2 separate regions of the Homo sapiens genome follow, and region 1 is linked to region 2. The links are contacts of gene promoters, found by promoter capture Hi-C in human tissues and cell types (Jung and others, 2019). All regions are on one chromosome and are shown on one strand. The core of a region is centred on a gene start or on the middle of the fragment in contact, and the rest is flanking DNA. Distances in the headings are between cores, read along the strand shown. Region 1 overlaps MUSK (muscle associated receptor tyrosine kinase). Region 2 holds the start of LPAR1 (lysophosphatidic acid receptor 1).

Region 1 (4,999 bases), core at 358-2,857, 260 kb before region 2:
AGTTCTCCCAAGACTTTGGAGGTTAAGAGAAATTTACTATTTTGAAGAAACTAAGGTGTGAACTTAAAGCTTCTAATATTTCTAGGCATTTCTAATTTTTTTTTTTTGAGTTCTGCCTTCCTTAGATACCTACTAGCGGAATCCTAATGCTATCCTAATTGTACAGATTAGCGTAAAGATTTATTTCATTTGCTCTAAAATAAATGAAACAGCACTTTTAATTACTGCTTGACATTTTAGATTCTTTCATAGGGAATCTTATGAGAGCTTGTAACATTTTCTGGAGTGTGTAGAAAAATGGCTAAGAAACATCTTATATTTTGTCAGCAGAGTGGAATAAAGGAATAAAGTCCTTTTTCTTAGCCAAGAAAGCATGCTAAAATAAGACACATGTTTGAAAATGCTGATCTCACAAAACAAAATTGAATTGCTTCATGTTGCTTTAATGAACTTTGTTTGTAAGGAACTATGTTGTTATCCCTAACAGCTGGTTTAATTTCAAAGACCCAATTCTTTCACATTCGAATGCAAAGAATGTTTTCCAGTTGTATATTAAAAAGCTGAGAGAGAACTTGCATTTCTTAGCACTCACTCTCTCACAGAATATGTGAGATATCTGGATGCTCACTTAAAACAAATTTTTATCCTTTCCCCTTCAGATTATAACAAAGAAAACCTAAAAAGTAAGTAATTGTGTTTGTGCCCTTGAAACCTTATGTGTATGTAATTGGATTCATGCATGTGTGTTTACACTTATATTTCCTGATGCCCAGAACAGAATGTACAGCCGCTCTCAAAGTCTTCTCACCATACTCATCCAGGGTATAACATGAGGGAAAATCATGGAAGGTCTCAGTTTATAACTTTTAATTAGACCGTAGAGAGTACCATATTTAGTGAGTCATACAAATGCTATCTCCCACCTCAAGGTTTTTAGTCTGTTTTATTTCTTATATGGCTATAAGTAAGCCAAATTTAAAATGTCACCTTTTGATTTTATATTCTTGATTCAGTATAATCTAATTATGTATAGATGAAACCCAACATTTATTTCTTCATTGAGCCAATTCATGATCTTCATTTGTGACAATAGATCCCTCTTTTGGAAGTTAGGTATTTTTTTAAGACAGCTGATTTCCAGTATAAAGTTTATAGGATCAAATCAAATGGCTTTAAAAAGGTCATCACAAAAATCTCTGGGAAAGAATTCAAGAAGGTTGCTTGAAAAGGGATGTCGTACAAAATAACTTGTATCAGATAGTGCTTTAACCTGTCAGAATGCAGAAATCCTCAGGATGAAATTAGAAAAGCTTTTCATGTCAACTAACTTCCTCTGGTCTCAGCGTTCTAAGGCTTAAATCACACTTACTTCCTGTAATACATATTCCAGCCCTAATCTCCTCTGCATTTGACTAGGTGCCAGGACTTGATTTTACCAGCTTGCTTAAAGGACCAACACTTAAAAGTATTAAAAGCAAGAATGCTACTGGTCCTAGTTGAATTACTCAGAGGTATTAAACAAGAAGAGTTATGGAAACCTTAAAAATCTATTATTCTGGTAGCCTGTCAAATTGTTATTCCCAAATCGAAGGAATAAAAAAAAATTTCAATTCTTTGTTATATGAGCAGCCAAAGTTTACTTTGATTGGACTTTGAATTGATTACTGTGCTCTTTGTTATCCATCGATTGCTCACTCATCCATTCAAACATTCATTGAGGGTTTGCTGTGTGGAAGGACCAGACCATTCATCTTAAATTAGACAGGAACAATACACAAAAAAGCATCCACATTTCTGCCTTTCACACTAATTATAAAGGAATTTTGAGCAGCACAAACTAGCTACAATAATAAATTTTCTAGTCTTTAAAAAACAGCTTTATGAAATCTTCGATACATGTAAGAAAATGAGCTCCTAATGTCATGAACTAACCATTTAAACTGAAAGTAGGGCAGGGAATATCTGAAAGTATGCTCCTTGAGTTAAGGCAATTATTATTAAAAGAGTTGGCTTTAGCAGGTCAATAGTGGAGCAAAGAAAACATCCTTATTAGGCAGTGTCCCATATTTTATAGGGGTGTGTAAAGACCTTAAGTATTTTCCAAAGAGTGTCTTGATTTCTGAGTAAACTCTAAAGAATATCACCAGCTCATTTGGAGGGGTCACAAAAGAGCTGTTAATCATTTGTTTATCTTTGCATTATTTTCTTCTTCCTTGAGCATAGGGACTAGAATTTCAGTAGTTTTTCTTTTTTATAATTTCTTTGGCTGAAGTGAAACATCTTTTTGAGCAGGCAATGCCTTTGTGCTATTTACATTATTTGTAAGCAAGGATTACACTATTCCTCTCTTCCGTGAGACTTCACATACTTTATTACAGAAACACTCAGCAGTGAATCTGTCTTCTATTTCAGAGCTTCTGTGGAGAAAAGGTTAATTTGTCTTAATCATTGAAATAATTACTTTTCTCTTGAATTCTCTTTTTCCTTCCATCTTTGCTCTTTCTATACATATACATGGAGAATAAAGGACCCAATGAATGTACCCAAATCCAAACTGACTAGTGTGATACATACATTATCTCTCTTAATACTCCCAATAGTTCTACAAAATTAAGTACTATGAACGTCCTCCATTTTACTTACAACCCAACATGAGAAAGAGAGATTAAGCAATGTGTCCAATTTTACCCATCTAGTAAGGTGATAAGCCAGAATTTGAACTGAAATCTATCTGATTCTGGCTCTGTCTTCAGAGCCAGAATGTTATACCTGATGCATTTCTGTTATTACTAATGTTTCTTAAAAAATTCCAAGACCTCATGTGTAATAAAGCTTAACTGATTGTTTAACTGATTCATTCTTGAATAAATTCCACTACCTTTTCACATTTGTTATAATTGATTATTCTTAAGAAGCTCTAATTGATAAAAATTTTATTGTTCACAATTTTAAATCACCCAGGCCACTTGATGATTTGACTTTTTGTTAACATTTAAATGAATACATGCTTTGTGTCCCAGACCATTTTTCCATAATGATCAGCTACTATTTTGCCCACGAATGAAATCATGAAGCGTCAGTGTCTCTGTGTGTGTGTGTGTGTGTGTGTGTCTGTGTAAAACTCATGAATTATTTCATAATTTGAAATGTGGTTTGGGTAATTTTTGTGGTAATATTAAAGTTACAAGTTCTTAGAAAATTGGAGTTTAAAGTAACTTTAACAGTTATTTAATCTAAAGTCTCCCACAATGAAAGAATCTTTTCTAGAGCATCTCTGACAGAAACATTCCATTTTCCCTCCTGAATTTATTTCTCAATTCCTTTGTAGAATACATTAATTATTTCAACAATTTAGCTATGTAGAACTAAATTCTGGTTCTCTAGAACTGTCAACAACTGATCTTCACTCTATTTCTTTGATTTATTTATAATCTGTATGATAGTCCTTAAAATATTTGGAGACAGGCACTCAATCTCTCTGTAGTCTTCTCTTCTTCACATTAAATATCTCCAATTTTTAACTTTTTCTTTTGCAACTGACTTCCAAAATCCTCACCTCCATGTTTACTTTTTACTGGCTGCCACAAGCTTGAGAATATCCAGAACTGAACACAAAGCACAGAACATGATCTGATCAGAATTGCAATGCAACCATATTTTCTGTGATAAGGCCTTGTTCTTTTATGAGTATAGATTAAACTCATGCTAGCTGTCTAATAATTTCATGACATTAATAGCCCTTCTATACACATATGGGTTTACTGATTTCCTTGATTTTCTAATAAATTTTCTACTAGACCAATCCAATTCATAATTATTTTTATTACATTCTTCTAGCATTTATAATAATTTGTACTTTACATGTTTAGTTACTATGTTCTATGAGGCATAGTGATCCAAGACACTTTTCTTTTTATATGAAGCTCTTTACCAATGTAAAATGTCACTCTTGTCTTGTTTTAGTGCTTTTAGCTTTAAATTTCTAGTATTAATAATGGTAATTTTTTCCTTGTATTTATGTTAACCTAGCACCTCTTTGTTCCTCTTTTATTTTTCTTTTCTTATAAACAACATATACCTGGGTTTACTCCAATCAGATAGCCATTTTCTATTAATAGGAGGATTTAGCCTGTTCATATTTTATATCACAACTGATATACTCTATTTTATCCCTACTATCTTAACTGTATATTTTCTATTCGCTTTACGTTTTTGCTTCTTCTTTTTCTTTTTCTTTACTTGTTACTGGTTATGTTTTCTCCACTGCTAAGTGAAAGTCAGACACCAATTCTTTCTACACATCGCAGTGCTCTATTTATTCTTCATTTCTGCCCACCCCATGGGACTTTCAGAATCTCCAGGAGATCCTCAGACTGCTTGGATCTTCTTCCTTACCTCCCCTGGTACTCTTAGGTTTCTCTTTGCAGAGTGATTCTCAATATTGAGTCTTACCTAGCGAATTAGCCAAGACTCCACCCATCACAGCCCCTTCACATGTATCCTGAAGTTATTTTCTGATTCAATTGTTATTAAGAGTCTCCTCATGTATTTCCTTAGAAGGGAAAGTGTCTTGGGAGACAGAATCCCTGAAGCCTTGTGTGTTATCAAATTGTTTTCTTTTATTTGGGTAGTTGAAAAGTGTATTAACTGGGTATGGAACTCCTGAGTGACATTTCTTTGGGTGGTTTATAGATGTGATTTCACTCTTTTCTAGCTTCTAGTGTTGGAAGCAGGTAGTCTGGTGTGAATTTATTTTTTTCCTGTAAGTAATTTATTCTTTCTATCTAGGCAGAAACTTTTTGATTTTTCCCTTTATCCGTGATATCTGTATGATAAAAATTGTTTAATCATGTGCTATTGAACATCTCTTTCCAACTCCATGATAGGGCTTCATGTTGGGAGCTTGAGATAAGCTATGATGGGAATCTTTATCCCATTGAAATCAGGATGGTAGACAGACCTTTCTAATGCAAAAAGTTGATCATGCTATTCCACCTCG
Region 2 (5,583 bases), core at 94-2,593:
GCTGAGCAAACACACTTATGCAAATACGTGAAAAACAAACTGTTAGAGCCTGAAGGAATAGAGGATTTCGCTGTGATCATCAATATGTGATCATCACATTTTCAATATTTATGTTTACCAATATCTATCTAACCCCATAGGAAACGACGCGTCCATAGTGAAACAAGCCAGCACCCACATTTATGAAAAAATCCACGGATTTCAACAAAAATGAAGAGAGGAGAGCAGAAGCGGAGAGCCACAACCTCAGGCCCCAGACAGCAGGCAGCAGCAAGTCCTGAATGCCTTCACTCTTAACATTGCAAAGACCAAATGGCAGCAAAGAAAAACAAGAATAAACTTTAAATCCATTCACCACAAAGGAGTCCTACGCAAGTCAAAGGAGCCGTCGATTTCAAAACCATCAACTTTCAAAGCCAGGTCCCTCCCTTGCCTTACAACCTCCTGTTACTTGTTAAGCACGTTTGTTAGGCGGCTGGACAGAAACTTAGTTAAAAGTCCTCAGCCCGGTGGTGGGGGACAACCGAGTCGTCAGTGGGAAGCGAGAGGTGCGGAGCCCCAGGGGCGCAGGGACCCCTCGGAGGTGCAAGTCCAGCGGGACGAGGTTTTGGGAGAATTTCGAGGGCCCCTCGCAAGCCCTCCCGCGCACCCACCCCGACCCAGGTAACCGGAGGCCACCTACGTGTCACTGGGCGGGCCCCGGGGCGCACTGACCTGGCGCGGGACAGGAGGGCCGGCGGCCCGGGCGGCTGCGGCAACTTCCCTCCAGGGGCTCGGTCCGCCGCTGGGTGCGGGAGGCCAGGGGAGCCTCGCCTCCTGCAGGCCGGCTCGCAAGAACGCACGGCCACCCACCCGCGCCGCGGCCCACAGCGCGCACCCACACTCTCACTGGCACTCGCACGCGCGCCCCCAACCACAAAGCCCGTCCGCGGCGGGACAGTGTGAGCCCAGCGCGCCGTGTGGCGGGCCGAGCAGTCGCCGCGGCCTCTGGCTTCGCGCCCAGGGGGCGCCGTCCCCACACGCCGCGCCGGCCCCCTTACCTGCGCTCGCTGCCGCCGCGCGTCCCTCTCCTGCCGCCCCCGGGCTGGCTTCAGGCCGCGCGCCCAGTCCCGGCGGCCCCCGCCCCACCGCCAGCCGAGCCCGGCCCTCCGCCCGCCCCTCGGCAGTCGCCCAGAGCGGGGCCGCCCCCTGCGCCCACCCCGCCGGGGTCCCGTGCTCGGCCGGGCGGCGGGGAGGGCTCCGCGGCTCCGGGCCCTGGCCGCCCCAGATCCGGCCCGCGCTCCGCAGCGGGGCTGGAGACGGAGTCGCCACTCAGGGAGCGTCAGCCGCCAGTCGGCCCCTACTGCCCGGCTTTGGCGCGCTGGCAGGAGGAGGGGGCGCAGAGGGAGGGCCAGAGGAGCAGCGCCGACGCCAGCCTCCTCTCTTCCTCCGCCTTCCTTCTTTTCTGCTTGTTCCACGTAGCACAAGTCAGCAACACCCGAACCCCCAGAGTCCGCCCTCCCCGCTCCCAAGCTGGACCCCTTACCTGGTGTGGCGCCCCCAGCGCCCCTGACCTCTGCGCCCCCTCCTCCATTCATTGGCTCGACAGCCCACGGTGGTGGCAGGGCCGGGGCTGGGGGGTGGCCTTAGCCTCCCATTCATTATCTCAGCAGCCTCCCCCGCCCCGCCCCCGAGTCGACACACCCGCAGCGGGAGACCCGTGGCCGCCAGCTCGGGTCCCACCCCCGCCCCTCCTGCGCTTACCCCAGCGCCGGACAGCTGGCAGGACTCCGGTGGACGCCCCGGCACGGGGCATTTTCACGTTGTCGCTCTCCTCTTCCCACTCGAAAAGCTCTGGAAAACATCGCGGGGCCCGCAAAACCCCGGAAATGTGGCCTCTCTTTCGTGGCTCACTTTCTAAACTTTCCAGAAGGCGCAAAGTTTCTCCCAGCGCCGCCCTGCACTGGAGGCTGCGAAGAACGCAGAAGCGGCTTTGCTGCTAGGAAGGTGCATACGTTTCTAGTTCTGATTTTTCACTTCACTGGATCTGTAAACGAAAGCAAGTGTGTCTGCTCCCCTAGTTCTCCATATCCACGATTATAAATTTCTCTTCCGCTTTCCCAGTGTAGCTTTGCAAGTGTAAACTATCAATTTTAGTGAGAGTAATTAAGGGCGGGGACTGCACACCTGGAGGTGTGGGTGGGAGCGGCGCGGGACTAAGGCCTAGGGAACATTCTCAGGAGAGTGGCAGCCACAGGGATTCGCCCAGGTCTTATAACACACCCACTCGATGGGGTCTCCCTAGCCACGCCACCTCACAACACCCATCTCCCACTTCTGGCTTCCCAGGATTTCCGGAGTGATCACAATTATCGGCCTCTCGCTCCACAGCTAAGGCCACCGCATATCAAAAATAGCAGCGTGTGAGTAAAAGTTTCATGAGCCCTCGCCTTGAAATGGCACAGAGGACACAGCACACCAGCAGTAAGGCATGGGGACTCGGCAGGACTGATCTGATTGAGAGAAACGCAGGACAGCGAGGCGGGGCTATGTTGGTGGTGGCCACCAGGTAACCGTGGGCTTTGCAGAAGAGAAAGGTCACTGCAAACCGTAGCTGGACGGAAACTTTTCAAGCCTCAAGTGAGTTATGCTGTGACGGGACCATGACCATCTCCCACCGGTGACTGCTTAGAACCTTGACCAAGCTCGTGTGGTTTTCACAGGATGCTCAGGGCTGAGTCCTGGCTGTAAATAATTTACTATCTAAAGCTGTTTCCTTTTAAAAACAATGGTTCTAATCTTTTTTTTAAAAAAAATCATTCAAATCTTTTTTAAAAATCCACTTTAAATAACTTTGCTTTCTATACCTTTCCTACGAATATATGATTTATTTTATAACCTACTATGTGAAAAAATTGAAATTTTAGTACATGCACAGTGCTAATATGTTCATGCACAATGCTACTTATGTTTGTGTACGGCATGCAGAAATGTGTATAGATATGTATACCCATGAATACAAACCACTCCCTTATCTCACAAATAATCATAGGGGTTGATACCAAACTATAAGAAATATTATATTGGGATGAATAGGCAAATGTTCACTATAAAATCTCAGTATCATAAAAAGTATATATTGGTAAGAAAAAAATATACTCGAAAGAGGTTTCCATATATTTTTAACCATAGCTCTACTCAAGTCAAAAAATCACTTATTAGCTAATTTTCCCGTCTCTTTCTTCCTATACACTGTACTTACTATCAGATTTCTTAACACCAATACTTCTATATCTAATATAAAGACATTTTAAAATTAATTATTTCCATGTTTAGCCTTTCCCCATAAATCAAAGGTAAAGTAAAAGGAGTTTCTTACCTACCACTCAACTTGAATATTTTTAATATGTTGATTTTGTCTCTTACCTTCTTAAGGAATACAGTTGCTTCTGTTTTGACTATCTTAACTACTCTGTGGCCCCTTCTAACATCAAATTGGGAGGCCTGTCCGTACAAGACATGTGTATTCAACAGTAAGTTATTTGCTATAAAACACTTCATTTCCTCTTTATTTGGTCTGCTGTGGCCTGAAATGAAATATAGAACAAACTGAAAGGTCTGCCTGGACAGACCTGTCTTCCTGACAAGCGTGGACCTGTCTAAATGAGACAGCTTCTGCAGCCAGCTTTAGATCGATAACTCTAAAATTAAATGTAGGTATGTACATCCAGTAGAAAAGGACAGAGAAAATGAAATACAATACAGAATTCAGTTCAGCATCTAGATTAATCCATAAAACCTAGCTCATTATGTTCCAAATGAGCTACTTTTCTCATCTGTAAAATGGAATAATGGTACCAGTGCAGTCTTTTATATGGTTCCAAGTTGTCTTTTATCAAAGTAAAATAATATATTTGGGTGGGCTTCTGAAGACACTAACATTGATGATGAGGTTTCAACAGGAACAAAGAATACCTTGATAAATTTTCTTGAATGTTTTCTCCTGTCTGTAGTCCTCTTGTCATTCAGACATTCCCTTTCTTGGAGAGTCATCCTGATGCTTTCTGTCCTAACCTTTCTCTCCTCCCCTCTGCCAAGCAGTATTTCTTTAGATTTGTTTCTTCAAATGACTTCAGCAGAGGTAAAGACCCAAAGACAGCTGGCGCTGTCAAACATGACAAAAAATATTCTTAGCCACAGTGGCTCATGCTTGTAATCCCAGCATTTTGGGAGGCTGAGGCGAGAGGAGCGCTTGAGCCCAGGAGTTCGAAGCTGCAGTGAGCTGCCATTGTGCCACTGCACTCCAGCCTGGGCAACAGCCAGGCCCTGTCTCTTAAAAAGTTTTAAAATTTTTAAATATATATGTATGTTCAGCAAAATGAAGCCAGGCATGGTGGCTCACACCTGTAATCCCAGCACCTTGGGAGGCCAAGGTGGGCAGATCGCTTGAGGCCAAGAGTTTGAGACCAGCCTGGCCAACATGTCTGTCTCTACTAAAACCCTGTCTCTACTAAAAATATAAAAATTAGCCGGCATGGTGGTGCATGCCTGTAGTCCCAGCTGTTGGGAGGCTGAGGCATAAGAATCTCTTGAACTTGGGAGAGAGAGGTTGCAGTGAGCCAAGATTGCACCACTGCACTCCAGCCTGGGCAACAGAACAAGACTGTGTCTCAGAAAAAGTTCAGCAAAATGAAACATTGTGATGGATATTTCAAGTTCAGGTTTTACATTAATATCTGGAAGGACACCATAGACTTTGTCAGACTATTGATATAAGCTAGTGATCCAAGGACTATAATTTGAGAAGCATTTCGGGTGGAAAAATTGGCTGTCACTGCCTTTGGCACTATTATTTGTTCAAAAGGTTCCCCAGTCATGGCACACTCATGGAAGAGTTCTCTCTTCCTCCCTCTGTTCGCTTCCCTCTGGCAAAAAGCTTTTGAAATTTTCTGTTCGAGAGTAATCAAAACTATCAGCAAAACGATCTGTTGGAAACTTTCCCTCCAGTCTATTAAGGTAGAGACTGATTCAAAGACAGTATTTTGGTGAAACAATACCCTGAGAGAACTCAGCCTTTTCCGGAAAGTTTTGCAGATGATGCCTCCAGGCATAGTTTTCTTCCTCCTTGAAATGGGGTATTTGTGCCTCTCCAGTGTTTTTCCCCTTGGCTAGGGGGGAAAAAAAAGCATTCTCCTTAGGAAACCTTTCTATTTTAAAAGTCCAGCGGCAAAGGTGGGTGGGGCAGCCCAATTTAGTAAAAAGTAATAATAATAACACTCTTCAGAGTGCAGGTGGCATAAGGAGATTCCAAGAATGGAGAGAATTTGGGTTTGCATGCAGCAGCCTCCTGCAAGGACTAGGCTGCAATGAAAGCCCCAAACAGAGTAACTCTGTGTTCACCTTTTTCTTATCACATACATCTGCATGAATACTCTGGGTAACATCAGAAGTAGGTCAAGGCTAGCAGATCCTTTCTCTGTAGTCTCCCTCATCCAAAATAAAAAAGGCTTAGATCTAAAACAGAGTGAAGAAAGACAAGGAAAAGGAAAAAAATATATGTGTGTTATATATACAACTATAAAGCTAAAAATGGATCTGGATACA

Evidence for each region. The method cuts DNA at HindIII sites, captures the fragments that hold promoters and counts their contacts. A contact is called where the count stands out against the background at its distance.
Region 1: a fragment that was not itself captured here is called in contact with the fragment with the promoter of LPAR1 in region 2 in 3 of the 25 tissues and cell types used here (dorsolateral prefrontal cortex, hippocampus and mesenchymal stem cells).

The regions. Positions count from the first base shown.
Region 1 is chr9:110,775,973-110,780,971 of GRCh38, forward strand. It overlaps MUSK (muscle associated receptor tyrosine kinase), which reads left to right. Exons shown (of 15, transcript NM_005592.4): 11 at 660-683. The region is part of intron 2 of LOC107987115 (a long non-coding RNA gene); the gene reads right to left. Among named protein-coding and RNA genes, the nearest start is that of MUSK, 110 kb to the left of the region's middle. The HindIII fragment of the contact is 3,206 bases long and covers 5-3,210 here.
Region 2 is chr9:111,037,127-111,042,709 of GRCh38, forward strand. It overlaps LPAR1 (lysophosphatidic acid receptor 1), which reads right to left and starts at 1,344. Exons shown (of 6, transcript NM_001351411.2): 1 at 1,041-1,344. LOC124902248 (a long non-coding RNA gene) reads left to right here. Exons shown (of 2, transcript XR_007061732.1): 1 at 1-663; 2 at 2,329-5,583. RefSeq lists a silencer at 774-1,113. The HindIII fragment of the contact is 11,259 bases long and covers 1-5,583 here.